Regions from separate parts of the Homo sapiens genome. Here regions 1 and 3 are each linked to region 2. The links are contacts of gene promoters, found by promoter capture Hi-C in human tissues and cell types (Jung and others, 2019). All regions are on one chromosome and are shown on one strand. The core of a region is centred on a gene start or on the middle of the fragment in contact, and the rest is flanking DNA. Distances in the headings are between cores, read along the strand shown. Region 1 holds the start of BNIPL (BCL2 interacting protein like). Region 2 holds the start of ENSA (endosulfine alpha). Region 3 holds the start of MRPS21 (mitochondrial ribosomal protein S21).

The links. Contacts are between HindIII fragments. The study calls those that stand out against the background at their distance.
Region 1: the fragment with the promoter of BNIPL here is called in contact with the fragment with the promoter of ENSA in region 2 in 1 of the 25 tissues and cell types used here (adrenal gland).
Region 3: a contact is called between the fragment with the promoter of MRPS21 here and the fragment with the promoter of ENSA in region 2, in 1 of the 25 tissues and cell types used here (heart right ventricle).

Annotation. Positions count from the first base shown.
Region 1 is chr1:151,034,948-151,038,344 of GRCh38, reverse strand. BNIPL (BCL2 interacting protein like) reads right to left here and starts at 1,759. Exons shown (of 10, transcript NM_138278.4): 1 at 1,579-1,759; 2 at 683-778. The coding sequence starts at 1,619. It overlaps PRUNE1 (prune exopolyphosphatase 1), which reads right to left. Exons shown (of 8, transcript NM_021222.3): 8 at 2,632-3,397. The HindIII fragment of the contact is 8,096 bases long and covers 884-3,397 here.
Region 2 is chr1:150,627,731-150,631,061 of GRCh38, reverse strand. ENSA (endosulfine alpha) reads left to right here and starts at 1,450. Exons shown (of 4, transcript NM_004436.4): 1 at 1,450-1,648. The coding sequence starts at 1,592. It overlaps LOC112268239 (a long non-coding RNA gene), which reads right to left and starts at 1,243. Exons shown (of 2, transcript XR_007066603.1): 1 at 560-1,243. RefSeq lists enhancers at 1-755, 756-1,723, 1,466-1,735. The HindIII fragment of the contact is 5,200 bases long and covers 761-3,331 here.
Region 3 is chr1:150,292,244-150,295,563 of GRCh38, reverse strand. It overlaps MRPS21 (mitochondrial ribosomal protein S21), which reads right to left and starts at 1,703. Exons shown (of 3, transcript NM_031901.6): 1 at 1,666-1,703; 2 at 1,115-1,229. The coding sequence starts at 1,197. It overlaps LOC105371434 (a long non-coding RNA gene), which reads left to right and starts at 1,744. Exons shown (of 2, transcript XR_922129.4): 1 at 1,744-1,932; 2 at 2,067-2,264. RefSeq lists an enhancer at 1,356-1,415. The HindIII fragment of the contact is 19,456 bases long and covers 1-3,320 here.

The DNA.
Region 1 (3,397 bases), core at 510-3,009, 410 kb before region 2:
TGGAATGCAGTGGCACAATCACAGCTCACTGCAGCCTCTACCTCCAGGGTTCAAGCGGTCCTCCCACCTCAGCCTCCCGAGTAGCTGGGCCTACAGGTGTGCACCACCACACTTGGCTAAATTTTGTATTTTTGTAGAGATGGGGTTATGCCATGTTGCCCAGAGTAGTCTTGAACTTCTGAGCTCAAGTGATCCACCTGCCTCGGCCTCCCAAAGTGCTGGGATTACAGGCATCAGCCACCACGCCCGGCCTCTGTTTTCTTTTTCCCATTTTTTTCCTTCAAGTCCTAATTCACCATCCCTGTGTCCATTTGCTTTTTTTTTTTTTTTTTTTTTTTTTTTTTGAGACAGAGTTTCACTCTTGTTGCCCAAGCTCGGGTGTAATGGCACAATCTCAGCTCACTACAACCTCTGCCTCCCAGGTTCAAGTGATTCTCCTGCCTCAGCCTCCCGAGTAGCTGGGATTACAGGCATGTGCCACCACACCTGGCTAATTTTGTATTTTTAGTAGAGACGGGATTTCACCGTGTTGGTCAGGCTGGTCTCAAACTCCTGACCTCAGGTGATCCACCCGCCTCGGCCACCCAAAGTGCTGGGATTACAGCCATGAGCCGCCGCGCCATCCCCTCCGTCCATTCGTGACCACCCCTCCCTTCTCCCAGCCACCCTCACACGTCCTCACCTAGGGAATTCTTCATCCTGCCATTCCTCCTTCAGCTCCAACTCCCCATGTCTCAGGGCTGCTCCTAGTTCTGGTGCTTCTGCAATCTCCCTGACCCTAAGACAGCCCCCAAGAAGAAAAGATCAAGGGAACTGAATAGTAGGTAAGAATAATTGAAATGAAGAACAGTAATTGAGATACAGAGCAGAGGATAGGCCTTCAAAAGGACTCAGATCTCTTGCCTCCTATACAGATGCTTCTCTTACCTTCACCACTTGCTAGAAGCAGATTACCTGCTGTTAAGTTTGGGAGCAGACGAAAGATGGAATGTAAAGTTAATCATATTTACCTCTGTAGCAGTTGCTCCACCTACAAAGTTGGGGTGAGAGATGTCCCACATTACAAGTGGCTGGAACCCAGCTAGACCCACCCAGCTATCATTGAGCAAAGTCGGGAAGACGGTACCTAGTTAGGCCTGCCTTTCCTCCACCGAGCTGGGGAGTGGCTAAGGGAAAACATGGCATAAGTGGAGGGGTGGAGGAAGAAGGTAAGGAGAAAGATTTGCCAGAACGAGAACCTGGACCTAAACTCGGTTCTGGTTCAGCTTTCCTGATGGCCATTCTGGAGGGTGAGGGTTAGAAAATAAAAGAACACAGGCAGATTTATCAGGTACAACATATTACAGAAACTTCCTTTATTTTTAAACCAGGGAATTATCCTGGAATCCTGTTCCCCAGTTCCATACCATACTGACATTTCCTACCTAAAACCACCCTCATCTCTTCTCTGCAAACTCTCTTACAGTCTTGTCTCCTTGAGGAACCCGAGATTTGACCCAGTAAGAGCTGGGTGGTGGGGAAGTCTCTCCGGACTGTTTATTCACTGTTACCAATCAAGTGAGCCAAGATCTTACTTACCCAACATCTGTCTTTTTTCCTGCCTCTTGTATAGTTCCCATCTTCACAAGTCTTCCTGCCTCCTTCTTTAAACACCTAGGAGTTGTTGGGGAGCTGGTTGTCCCAGCCCCCAACACTTCCTTACCTCTTTTCTGTCTCAGCTGTTGTAGCTCTTGCCTCCAAGGAGGGAGGTGTGGAAGGGAGGTAACCTCATCTTCAAAACAGGTTTTGCCACTCCTCTCCCCAGGAGCAGGTTTGCCCAAAAGAAAAACCCTGCCTCCTGTGAGGGGGCGGGTTTTGGGGAGGAGAGTGCATTTTCTAGTGGGGGCCAGTCTCGGTTGAGTCTAGGAAGGCAATTTGTTCTCCTTTCCAGACTCCATATATCCCTCTCAAAGTTGCTCTTTACACAAATAAGCAAAAAAACCAGTAGAAACCGTTGTGTTTCTGGCCGGGCGTGGTGGCTCACACCTGTAATCCCAACACTTTGGGAGGCCAAGGCAGGCGGATCACCTGAGGTCGGGAGTTTGAGACCAGCCTGACCAATGTGGAGAAACCCCATCTCTACTAAAAATCCAAAAAAAAAAAAAAAAAAAAAAAAAAAAAAAAATTATCTGGGCGTGGTGACACATGCCTATAATCCCAGCTACTTGGGAGGCTGAGGCAGGAGAATCGCTTGAACCTGGGAGGCAGAGGTTGTAGTGGGCTGAGATTGTGCCATTGCACTCCAGCCAGGGCAAAAAGAGCAAAACTCCATCTCAAAAAAAAAAAAAAAAAGAAAAAGAAACCATTGTGTGTGTTTCTAGGACTGTTATCTTGGATCTACTTTTCAAGCATAAGGAAAACTGGGGAAACGGAAGTATGTTATAAGGAGGTTTCTGGGAGAATAAACAAGTTGAACGGGAGGCTGAGGATGAGGGGAGACAGAAGCCTGTTGCTCCTTATTCCCAAAAAGAGTCAACAGAAAGAAGACATTAAGTATAGTAGGAAGAAGGGGGATCAATTTTGAGGAGACTGAAACAACTATCACAGAGAAAGGCCTGAATACACTTGTAAAAAAAGACAGTAAGACCCCCAAACAGGAAAAAATTATTTAATAGTATAACAAAATGCAAAATAAAGTACCCAAGTTACAAAACATAAATTCCTTTGGTTCATGATCACACCACTATTTTTACCTTCCACATAGCTACAGACATCACACCCTCAAAGTGAAGTCAAACTGTCCCCCTCATACTGAAGATGTCATGCCAAAACCATCACATACCCCACTGTTCAGTGAAACTGTTGGCAACTTACATGGAACAGAGCTGTGGGGTAGGAAAAAGGGGAAAGGGTTGCGTTAAAAAAAATGGGGAGACTCTACACATGCAGAACAAGTTAGTGGGAGGGAGTGCTCTGCTGGGTCAACACGCCATGAACCACACCCCTATTCGTGCTACATGAGGCTGAGTCCTTGCTACAACCACACAGAAATACAGACAATCAAGTGAACCTGAGCACCCCCAGGGATAACAGAAGAAAAATACAGAGAAGCAGAGGAGAGAAAGAATGGCAGCAAGAGGCAGATCACAGAATACCAGGGAACACCTAGTCCAAACCCTGTTTTACAGATGGGGAAAGTGAGACCTGGAGTAGTGAAGTGTCTTGCCAAAATACATAGTTTATGGGAGCATTAGAACTCCATGCTTCCTTTTAATGTGAGCAAGGAAAAAAAGAGATTGACAAGAAATTGATAGGCCTGCTAAGGCAGGAGACAGACCCAGGCCTCTCATTCCAGTTCTGTTGTCTTTTTGGAAGAGTGCCTATGAGGTCATTAAGGCCTTTCTGGGTGTTTTCTTGA
Region 2 (3,331 bases), core at 201-2,700:
TGGAGTTCAGTGGCGAGATGCGATCTCGGTTCACTGCAACCTCCGCCTCCCAGGTAAAAGCGATTCTCCTGCCTCAGGCTCCTGAGTAGCTGGGACTACAGGTGCACGCCACCACGCCTGGCTAATTTTTGTATTTTTAGTAGAGACGGGGTTTCTCCATGTTGACCAGGATGGTTTCTATCGCCTGACATCATGATCCACCCTCATCGGCCTCCCAAGGTGCTGGGATTACATGCGTGGGCCACCGTGCCCAGCCTTGTTTTGTATTTCTAGTAGAGACAGGGTTTCACCATGTTGGCCAGGCTGGTTTCGAACTCCTGACCTCAAGTGATTCGCCCGCCTACGCCTCCCAGAGTGCTGGCATTACAGGCGTGAGTCACCGCGCCCAGCCAGGCCTGTAAGCTTTCTAAGGGCAGAGACTGCCTTACTATACACGTACCCCCCCCAACTAACACAGTACCATCCACATACAGACAGACGCCCAGGAAATGTTAAACTGTAATTCTGGATAGGTTAACTAGTATTAACCGTATTTACCAAATGTTTACCACATACTTACACTGTCCTCCTTGTTTCAAGGAGCGTAGTCCCCAAGGGATCACCCTGATGGAATATAAAAACTACACATAAGAGTGAAACTACGGAACGTAAGCCATTAGTGTTTTGCAAGACAGCTCGGGTTGAGACTCAGTCTCTCTCTTCCACAGGCCAAGTGACACATCGTAATACCATTGGTACCGTTTTATTTTATTTTTCGCGACAAAGTCTCGTCCTGTCACCCAGGCTGGAGTGCAGTGGCGCGATTTCGGCTCACTGCAACCTCCGCCTGCAGGGTTCAAGCGATTCTCCTGCCTCAGCCTCCCAAGTAATTGGGATTACAAACGCCCGCCACCACGCCCGGCTAATATTTGTATTTTTAGTAGAGACGGGGTTTCACCATGTTGGTCAGGCTGGTCTCGAACTCCTAACCTCAGGTGATCCGCCCACCTCGGCCTCCCAAAGTGCTAGGATTACAGGCGTGAGGCACCGCGCCCGGCCTGTTAGTACTACTTTAAAATCGAATCTGACCTCCAAATCATTTTCTGGAGCTCGATCATTTTCTGCTAACACCGCAAAGCTTAATCCTCTCCACCTGAGAATAAAAGGTTCCATCCTTCCGCTCTCCAGTTTGACGCCCTGCTAAGTCTCTCGGACGCGGTGGGCTGGAGTGAAGGAAGCCGGAGCCCACCAAAGCTGCAAAAGTACCACAGCCAGCAGCCCCGCCCCCGATATCCCCCACAGGCTTCCAATTGGTCCTTGTGGCTCACTCTCTTTCCAGGTTGGTGTTCCAGCTTGCCGGTCGCCTCTATAGAGCCCACCTTTAGACGGCGACTATTGGTAGATCGTTACGTCATTGCCCTATCTACCTCACTCCCACTGGCTCTCATAGGAAGGGGCGGTCGCAACGTCACGGGCAAGGGCCGCCATTTTGACTGAGCAACCCTAGTGACAGGAGCCGAAGCAGCAGCGCAGGTTGTCCCCGTTTCCCCTCCCCCTTCCCTTCTCCGGTTGCCTTCCCGGGCCCCTTACACTCCACAGTCCCGGTCCCGCCATGTCCCAGAAACAAGAAGAAGAGAACCCTGCGGAGGAGACCGGCGAGGAGAAGCAGGTGAAGTGGAAGGGGTGCGGGCGGGCGAGCTGGGGAGACCGTGATGGGGCGGGAGACGGTCTCCCACCAGTGCGGATTGGTCGCCATGGTCTCAGGCTCCGCAGGGGTTGGCCACTTTTTGCGTCACGCTGGGTGAGCTTCAACACGACATGCTGCTTTGGCGCTGGTTAGTTGGGTCGTTTGTCACTCAGTACTGTACTCTTCCTGATTGGCCAATAGGCCTACCGCTCAAACCTTGGACGCTGTGCTATAATTGGCCGAGCATGGACGTGGGGCGGGTGGTTGGAAAGACGGTGAATGGAAAGGGGATGGCTGGTGGTCTTGGGTGTGATGTGTGTTATTGGTTTGTAGAGGTAAGTGACCCAGCAACCGGGCTGGGGCCCGCAGCCTCAATCCGCAAAGATAGGGGTCGAGGTAAAGACGTTTAAAAAAAAACCAGTATTGGGGGAGGGGAGAAGTGTAGTTATTATAATGGCTAGTTTAAGGCGGCAACTTTCTCAAGAGACCTATTTTAGTAGCTAAGGATGGTCTATTGCTCACCTTCAGTGAGGACCCAGCAATATTGAAGAGGGCTAGAGTTCCAAACAGAATCATGGTAATTAAACTTGGAAAAGACGCCGACAGGGTCGTGAGAAAGACACTTCTCTCTTCCCCTAGACTTCCAAGGCAGGGACTTAGTGCACCTGCGATTCCGTGATGGAAACACTAACGCCAAATAAACCCCTTATTGGGGTTTGTATTTGACTTTTAAAATTTAGTACTGGGTTCAGGTACTCATTAAATACACTTGGTGTTATATCTATGCGTAATTTCCAAGAGAAAGGAATATAATTCCACTAAAAAGAGTCATACGTTGACTTCATATCTTTTCAAAAAGTCACTAAAGGGCAGCAGGGACCACAAAAAAAAAAAAAAGAGATTGACTACAGTAGTGAGAGTCCCTGCACCACCAGGGTAGGTATTGATTTTTTTGATGAAAACTGGTGGGTAAATACTAGTGAGCCTACTGTATCTTTGTTTTCCTGAGGTTAAAAACAGTATCATTTTCCTCTCTGTTTATCAGCTTGCTACCATAATATTTGTGGAAATGTTGAAGCAAGGCTGTGCCATTACTCAGGTGGAGATCTTTGGAGAAGGCCACATAGCTAGCCGCCTCCACAGGGAGACCTAACAGGTGGCTTAGACCTTGAATAAAGAAGGAACTGCTTTGTCGTGTAGCAATTTTAAAAAAGAAAGAAAAAAATAAGGAGGAAACATTTAGCAAACTATTTTTTGTTGTTGTAGAGACGGGGTTTCAACATATTGCCCAGGCGGGTAGTGAATTCATGAGCTCAAGTGATGCACCTGCCTCAGCCTCCCAAAGTGCTGGGATTACAGGCATGAGTCACTGCTCCCAGCCCCAAACTATTTTTTTTTTAATTTCTCATGTGACATGTAGGATAGCCTAGGGAACCCTGCTACTCATCCTCTATCACCAGAAGCCCTGCTTTTTTCTCTTTGTCTTTCTTAGCATTTGTGCTGAGTGATATGGCCCACTCTGTGATTAAAGTATTGTGTTTAGTATTACCTTTAGCCCAATACGCACAGGTCCCTGGCTGGTTCCTTGGGTGAAGTGTGAGAAGCAGCTTGTCTTTTTCTCTCACAATAGTCATCTTGAGCTTTAGGGATTTTAACAAAGGTCTA
Region 3 (3,320 bases), core at 454-2,953, 340 kb after region 2:
TTCTATTTATCATACTACGTTCCCGCTTCCTAGCAACTTCACATCTTGATTTTCCATTTGGGCTCTTTTTTAAGTCTTCTAAAGAATTCAGGTTCCTCATAAAAGGAGTCATTACGCTTGGGCAACATGGCGAGACTCCCTCTGTACAGAAAATACAAAAATTAACTGCGGTGGTGGCGTGCGTCACTAGACCCAGCTAGTCAGGAGACTGAGGCAGGAGGATTGTTGAGTGACACAGCAAGACCCTGTCTCAATTTTTAAAAAGCGGGGCCGGGCGCTGTGGCTTACGCCTGTAATCCTAGCACTTTGGGAGGCAGAGGCAGGCAGATCACTTGAGGTCAGGAGATCAAGACCATCCTGGCCAACACGGTGAAACCCCATCTCTACTATAAATACAAAAATTAACCGGGCGTGGTGGCGGGAGCCTGTAGTACTGGCTGCTCAGGAGGCTGAGGCAGGAGAATGGCGTGAACCCAGGAAGCGGAGCTTGCAGTGAGCCGAGATCGTGCCGCTGCACTCCAGCCTGGGTGACAGAGCGAGACTCTGCCTCAAAAAAAAAAAAAAAAATTAAAATTAAAATTAAAAGCGGGGAGGTGCGGGGGGTGATTACTTGTTGAATACAATTCATACAGTTAGGTTTGAGGAAGAACTTTTTTTCTTTTTTTTTGAGATAGAGTCTCACTCTTGCCCAGGCTGGAGTGCAAGTGGCTCGATCTTGGCTCACTACAACCTCTGCCTCCCGGGTTCAAGCGATTCTCCTGCCTCAGCTCTCGAGTAGCTGAGATTACAGGCGTTTGCCACCACGCCCGGCTAATTTTTGTATTTTTAGTAGAGACACGGTTTCACCATGTTGGCCAGGCTGGTCTGAAACTCCTGACCGCATGTGATCCACCCGCCTCGGCCTCCCAAAGTGCTGGGATTACAGGCGTGAGCCACCGCGCCCGGCCCAGAACTTCATTTTTAAGATAATAAACTGAGGGGCTGAGACGTTTTAAGAGACTGTGAACACCTGGGCTGGCACTGTTTTGAGAACAATCAACGAAAGGGGAAGGGAGAGAATAACCACCGCACTTCCCAGAGAGTCTAGGCATGATTCTGGTCCCTTAACAGTTACCTGTTTAGGGTCCTGTATGCGCTTTCCACGTTCCCTTCCTGTACCATCACAGTCCTGGCGATGAACTTCAGATGTTTTGCCATGACCTTGGATTTAAACCTTCACTCTGTAGAGCCTAAAGGATGATGGAGAAAGGGCGAGGAAAGCAGAAAGAGAAACGCAACATAATACAAACTACACCGCGCGGCTTATTTAGGATTTGGAAATTCAACATGCTCAGGGACGCGCGAGATGGAGCACATGGAAGTCATCCTAGAAAGTAGACGTGAATCGTTGTCTCTTATTCTCACTGCCAGTCCAAATCCTCGCATAGAGAAGAAAAGAGATGGCAGCAGGGCGTTACCACAAAGACGCGTCGCCGGGCATGAGAAGGACACGAGCGACAAGGATGCGCCACAGGGTCCCAACCACCACACATAGTTCCAAAAGGGGTTGAGTTGGGAGTTGGGGAAGGACTCTTTGTTGGTCTTTGGAAAAGGGGGCGAAAGCCCGCAAACCTGCCCTCTCGCCAAGCCAGCCTTCCTTTCCCCAAACCCTGCACAACTCCTCACCTCGCGCGCTCAGTACCTAGCCCACCGGAAGGGTTCTCACTACCGGAAGCGGAAATTACGGAATCGCCAGCGCCGCGCAAAGAAACAGGCCGAGGGAGACAACGTGCGTGGAAACCATAGCAACGTCCTTTCTGGCCTCTGTTGACTGCCTCTCTTCCCCGGGCCTGGACTCTACACCTGACAAAGCAAAATACTCATTGACTTAAATTCCCCCGAAACACGTTTCTCGCCCTCTCATGGAGTCGAAGTCCTTCGGCCTCTGAGAAGGTCAGCCCAATTTCATACCCCTTAATCCTGTGAAATCCTTGATAAATATTTGAGCCATTTCTCTTTCTCGATGGAAAACAAGAGAAGTAGGCGCTTCCTGAGGATGCTTCCTGTTTTCTCTTTGGAAAGGACAGACTCTTTGAGATCTGCTCTCCGGACGAAAAATAGATTGATTCATACACGTCATCTGCCTAAGTGCTAAGGAAAAGAAATAAACATACTGTGAGTTTCCTATATCATCTTCCCACTAATTTAACTACATAAAGTGAAATCAATAAAGATATATGGGAAACACCTGCAGGGTTTAGAATAAAAAATTATGTCAGCTTCTATGCCTTTTCGTGCTAATGAGACCTACTGAAAAACCTCCTTTTAAATTTCTTCTTCGCTGTGGAGACACCCGTCCTCCTATTTGTATGCTACCTGTACATATCCATTTATGGTTATTCACGTAAGTTAACATCTAATGGCTGTAGGAAAACGTACCTCCCTTAGAGAGAGAGTGCGCGCGCACGCTCACGCACACACACACACACACAGACACAGACACAGACGTGTGCATCATCAGTTGATGCTAATAACTTACACTAACACTTAAGCCCACCTCAGAGTAAGCCAGGTCCAAAGTAACGAAATAGAACTAGATTGGGACATTATTATGCTTGTCAACAAACTTTCACTGAATGACTACTCTGTGTCAGATACTGTTGATACCACTCTAGTGCCTCCTGGACCACTAGGACCACATAAAAGATACTAAAACAAAGTAGTATATAATAAATGCAAAATAAATTATATGGGCTGGACGCGGTGGCTCACACCTGTAATCCCAGCACTTTGGGAGGCCAAGGCAGGCGGATCACTTGAGCCCAGAAGTTCGAGACCAGCCTGGGCAACAAAGCAAAACTCCGTCTTTACAAAAAATATAGAAATTAGCCGGGTGTAGTGGCATGGCCTGTTGTCCTAGCTACTTGGGAGGCTGAGGGGGAGGATCACCTGAGCCTGGAAGGTCAAGGCTGCAGCGAGCTTTGATCACACCACTGCACCCTGGCCTGGGCAATAGAGTGAGACCCTGTCTCAAAAAATTAAAAATGAATAAATAAATAAATAGGGCCAGGCGCGGTGGCGCACGCCTGTAATCCCAGCACTTTGGGAGGCTGAGGCGGGTAGATCACCTGAGGTCAGGAGTTTGAGACCAGCCTGGCCAACATGGTGAAACCCTGTCTCTACTAAAAATACAAAATTAGCCAGGCGTGGTGCCACATGCCTGTAATCCCAGCTGCTTGGGAGGCTGAGGCAGGAGAATCACATGAACCTGGGAGGCGGAGGTGGCAGTGAGCCGAGATCGCACCATTGCACTCCAGCCTGGGCAACAAGAGTGAAACTCC